Linked DNA regions of Homo sapiens: region 1 is linked to region 2. Evidence: promoter capture Hi-C in human tissues and cell types (Jung and others, 2019). All regions are on one chromosome and are shown on one strand. Each heading gives the region's core, a stretch centred on a gene start or on the middle of the fragment in contact. The rest is flanking DNA. Distances are from core to core; before and after follow the strand shown.

What was found. Contacts are between HindIII fragments. The study calls those that stand out against the background at their distance.
Region 1: a fragment that was not itself captured here is called in contact with the fragment with the promoter of RD3 in region 2 in 4 of the 25 tissues and cell types used here (mesenchymal stem cells, ovary, pancreas and 1 more).

The regions. Positions count from the first base shown.
Region 1 is chr1:211,437,474-211,440,173 of GRCh38, forward strand. No RefSeq gene overlaps it. Among named protein-coding and RNA genes, the nearest start is that of RD3, 53 kb to the right of the region's middle. RefSeq lists a silencer at 2,072-2,295. The HindIII fragment of the contact is 6,200 bases long and covers 1-2,700 here.
Region 2 is chr1:211,490,893-211,493,592 of GRCh38, forward strand. It overlaps RD3 (RD3 regulator of GUCY2D), which reads right to left and starts at 1,270. Exons shown (of 3, transcript NM_001164688.2): 1 at 876-1,270. The HindIII fragment of the contact is 12,360 bases long and covers 1-2,700 here.

The sequences.
Region 1 (2,700 bases), core at 100-2,599, 53 kb before region 2:
GAAAAGTCGTATTACCCCCTAAGCTTTAGTTTCTTCCTCTAAAAAATAAAGTTAGAAACCTCTCCCTGAGATCTGAAATATCACGGTTGAATTTCTGATGTTCCTGGATCCAAATGCCTAGTTTTTAGTTAAAGATAAAACTCAAATTGATAATATTTCCTTGTTAGCATAGGTACAAATTCTATGGAGACATTGATTAAAATACAAGACTAGCCAGGTAAAGCGGCTCATGGTTGTAATCCTAGCTCTTTGGGAGGCTGAGGTGGGAGGGTCACTTGAGGCCAGGAGTTCATGACAAGCCCGGGCAACATAGTGCAACCCTGTCTCTACAAAAATAAAATTTAAAAATTAGCTGGGCATAGTGGCACACACCTGTAGTCCGAGCTACTGGGGAGGCTGAGGCAGTAGGATCACTTGATCCCAGGAGTTTGAGGCAGCAGTGAGTGACCCATGATCATGCCATTGCACTCCAGCCTGGATGACAGTCAGATCCTGTCTCTAAAAAAATAATAAAGGCCAGGTGTGGTGGCTCATGCCTGTAATCCTAGCACTTTGGGAGGCCAAGGCAAGCAGATCAACTGAGGTCAGGAGTTCAAGAGCAGCCTGGCCAACATGGTGAAACCCCATCTCTACTAAAAATACAAAAATTAGCCGGATGTGGTGGCAGGCGCTTGTAATCCCAGCTACCTGGGAGGCTGAGGCAGGAGATTCACTGGAACCCGGGAGGCGGAGGCTGCAGTGAGCCGATATTGAGCCACTGCATTCCAGCCTGAACAACAGAGTGAGACTCTTGTCTCTAAATAAATAAATAAAACTACAAAACTAAATTACTGTATTCTTCAACTAATGGGACACAATATTCTTTTTTTTCTTTTTTGAGACAGAGTCTCACTCTGTCGCCCAGGCTGGAGTGCAGTGGCATGATCTCAGCTCACTGCAACCTCCACTTCCAGGGTTCAAGCTATTCTCCTGCCTCAGCCTCCAAAGTAGCTGGGATTACAGGCACGTGCCAACACGCCTGGCTAATTTTTGTATTCTTAGTAGAGATGGGGTTTCACCGTGTTGGCCAGGCTGGTCTTGAACTCCTGGCTTCGAACTCCTGGCCTCAAGTGATCCACCTGCCTCTGCCTCCCAAAGTGCTGGGATTACAGGCGTGAGCCACTGCGCCCAGCCAGGACACAATACTCTTGCATAAAGAAACGAAACTCTGGACAGTTCCGTTGTCGTGGGCTTTCTTATTTTCCTGCTTTGGCAATTGCTAACCAGAAAACTAGAAACCAACACAGAAAGAGGAGAAAGAGTATTTGGAGTGTCTGTATGAGTGTAAAATGTGATTGGGATTGTGGAAATACATAGATGGAGAGTTACTTATACTCCCAACCCCTCTGTATTCCAGGATGTTCACATATATGTCATGGACTAGGAAATTGGCTGCTGTGGTCTAAATGTACCCCCCAAAATTCATATATTGAAACATAATTGCCAATATGCTACAATTAAGAGGTGGGGTCTTTAGAAAGTAATTAAGTCATGAGGGCAGAGCTCTTATGAATGGGATTAATGACCTTACAAAAGGTGCAAGGAAGCTGCTTGTTCCTTTTCACTCTTTCTACCATGTTAATATGCACCAAGAAAGCACCATTTTGGAAGCAGGGAGTGACGCTGAACCTGCTGGCGCTGATCTTGGATTTTCCAACCTCCAGAACTGTGAGAAATAAATTTCTGTTGTTTATAAATTACCCACTCTAAGATATTTTGTTATAGTAGCAGGAATGGACTGAGACACTGGCATATTCCATAATTTGTAGATTTTATATTTTTATTGCATACAAATTGTGCTATAAATATAAATACATTATAGAAGTGACCATTTTAAAAAGACATCCCATATATTAGATTTTAAAATGCTTTGTGTGGAATTTTACAAAAAGTATAGTGAAGCACTCTTTACCTCTCAAGTATGTCACTGATAAGGGTTTATTGATATTATCATCTCTATTTTATTTATTTTGAGACAGAGTCTTGCTTTGTTGCTCAGGCTGGAGTGCAGTGGTGTGATCTCAGCTCACCACAACATCGCCTCCTGGGTTCAAGCGATTCTCCTGCCTCAGCCACCCGGTTAGCTGGGACTACAGGCACGCACCACTATGCCCAGCTAAATTTTTTGTATTTTTAGTAGAGATGGGGTTTCACCATGTTGGCCAGGCTGGTCTTGAACTCCAGGCCTCAAAGGCACCTCCTGGGTTGAAGTGATTCTTCTCCCTCAGCCTCCCAAGTAGCTGGGAGGCCACCACACCCGGCTAATTTTTGTATTTTTAGTAGAGACAGGGTTTTGCCATGCTGGCCAGACTGGTCTCGAACTCCTGGCCTCAAGTGATCTGCCTGCCTTGGCCGCCCAAAGTGTGAACCACTGCGCCCAGCTAGTGCTTCTCAAAATTCAATGTAAATATTAATCATCTAGTGTGGGGGTTCCCACTCCCTGGGGCACAGATTGGTACTGGTCTGTGGCCTGTTAGGAACCTGGCTGCACAGCAGGAGGTGACCAGCGGGCAAGTGAGTGAAGATTCATCTACATTTACAGCCACTCCCCATCACTCTCATTACAGCCTGAGCTCTGCCTCTTGTCACATCATCAGCAGCATTAGATTCTCATAGAAGCGCGAATCCTATTGCAAACTGTTCATGTGAGGGATCTAGGTT
Region 2 (2,700 bases), core at 20-2,519:
ACACGTTTCTCACGCTTTGGGTTGTATTTATCTCTTCCCCACCTAGCTATGAATTCTGCAAGGGCGAGAGGAATGTGGGTTGAATCTGCTGCACATGGTAGCACTTGATAAGCGGTTCCTGAATGAATGAGTGAATGGCAGCCAGTCCTTCCCATTCTGAGGCAGAGGTGCAGCCAGGAGAGGGCGTGTACACAGGTCTGACTGACCACAGTGGGAGGGGACTGACCCTCATCCCTTGGTCGCAGCTGGACTTTCCTTCTAGGCCCGATCTCCCTGGCGCCCCACCCTGCACCCATCTGCCTGGGCCCACTCTCCTGGGCATGTTATCAGGGATGCACAGACTGCTCCATGTTCGAGGGGACTGAGGCACATCCATCACCCTCGTGCCCTGGGTGCTGCTGCATCCCCAGAGCCTGACTCTGTGCCTTGGACTTAGTAGATGCTCGAATCACAGTTCGCAAACCCATGCAAGAGTCTCTGATTTGGGTTTCGCTTTCCTTCCCCCTGCCTGTGTCCACTCTATAAAGGCAGAAAGGAACCTGCTGGAGCTGGGTCCTCCCCGAGAGGCTTGCAGTTCCAGAACAGGCAAAAACAATGGCTTCCCACAGGTTTACAAAACAAGGAGCAGGCTATAGCCCCGAGGAAGCTGCAGGACCCTCATCGGTTCCAACTCCTGTGGAACTGATGAGGACTAAAGGGGCCTTCCTGTGGCCATCTGGGTCCCGGAGGTGGGCGGCTTTCTAGGCTCCCCAGCCTGCCACACCCCTTGAGGCCACCCCACCCAGCTTCAAGCCTCAGCCCTAACTTCCAAAGGTGCAGCTGTGCCAGGGTGCGGGTGGGGAAGACACTGTCTCCTGGGGAGACCTCCATCTTACCTCTGAGGTCAGCCTCTGCTCAGGTGCAGCGTCACAGCAGGGGGCCTGCGTTCTGCTTCCCAGTCTGGGAGAAGAGAGTGTCTGGATATTTTCAGGAAAAAAAAAGAAAGTTGAGCAGCCACAGCAGGGCAGGGCAGTCTACATCCTCAAGTCTCCCTCAGCTTCTCTGCTGCTGCCGGCTGGCCTCAAATTTTGCCTCTCTTTGGTTCTCTGAGAAGTTTTACCAAGAGAAGAGACAGGAGGAGAGATCCAGCCTGGACTATTGTTTGTGGGGTGTGTAGGTGTGTGTGTGTGTGTGTGTGTGTGTGTGTGTGTGTGTGTGTGTATGCGTGTATGTATCCCGCGAGGCTGGAGCCACAGCTTCCCTGATGAACCATGGAGGCGGGCCAGCTCCTGAGCTGCGGTTGCCCTGGAGACCCACCTAAGCCTCTTTGCCTGGAGCAGCATTATCTGTAGAGGGAGTGGCTGATCTGACACAAAAGCCTGAGGCGACCCAGGCCCAGGCAGTGAGGGAGCACTTGTGTCCAGATGGCATTCTGTCCGCTTCCTCCTCCAGCCGGTGCTCAGTGTGGCACAAACTGGGCAAGACCATTCTCACCCAACCCTCTGCTGAGCCCTAGGTGTACCTGCTGTTGGCAAATGTTTCCAGCTGCCTGGTGGGTGGCTCCTGGATGGAGATCCCCTCTTTCTATCAGCTCCCTCCTACAGGGAAGGGGTGATTCTGGGTGCTGAGGACAGGGACCTGTGAAGATACATCTCCGCCTTTGCCCCACCACATCCCTTGCCTGTCTTCCTCTCTGCTTATCTAAATTATTTCCTTCCCTCAAGGCAAGCTCAAGAGCAGACAGTTCTGACTTTCAGAAGGAGGGGCTGTCCAGGGAGAAGAGGAACATGGAACAGAAAGCATTGACGTTGAGGTATTTGAGATAACATTTGGGGATAGCAGAAGCATCCTGTTGCTGTTCTGCAGCATCCCACACTCATGTCTGGGCCTCCTTCCTGTCTCTGCTCTCTGGTCACGCTGTCACTTGTAGACTGTTCTGCCTAGAAGCCATGTGTGGGCCAGCTTGCACCTAACAGACATTAGGTAGCACTAAAACAGATGCACACTGCCCTGTGAGGGGCATGGGAATACTGTAATGGGCATGAAGCTGCATTATAATAGATCTTAGGTAATCCTGTGCTGGGTGATAGCGTGACTTTTGCACACATCTGGTTTTGATTGTGTTGGAAATAAAGCAGAAAGTACAACCAAGAATAAATTAAACAATGGCTGATGAAATGGACTCAGGTTGCCCACCTGCCTGCCTGCATGATTTCGTCCCTGGGTGATTTGTCACTTCGTGCTTGCTCTGTGGCTGGTTCCACTCAGCTGGTTCCATCCGCCTTCCCTCTTCATCCATCAAGCAGGCAAGATTCTTGAGTCAGGAGTTGGATCATATACTTCTCTTGACCAGTTCACAGCACGACAGCCCCAAAGATTGAGTGGGTCACTTGGGGATGGAAGATCCCCACATTTGAGGGAGCTGAAGCTGACTTCCTCTGACCCACAGTTCCCAGGCGGCCTCCACCTCAGGGCCAGCTAAGGCCAGAGTCACCCAAAGCAGGTAACTGGGAGTCCCCACCTCTGAGCACCCCACCACTATCCTGGCACTTTCCCAAGGGGCGTGGCTTGGAGGTCCAAGGGCAGAAATTCCCAGGCATTTCCACACTGTAGGGAAGGGAGCAGGGGGATGACAAGACTTTACCTTCCCTTTAGGAAAGTTGCTGGAGGCAATGAGGAGAGGAGGGCATGGACTAAGTCACATGCTCATCTGTGCAGCAC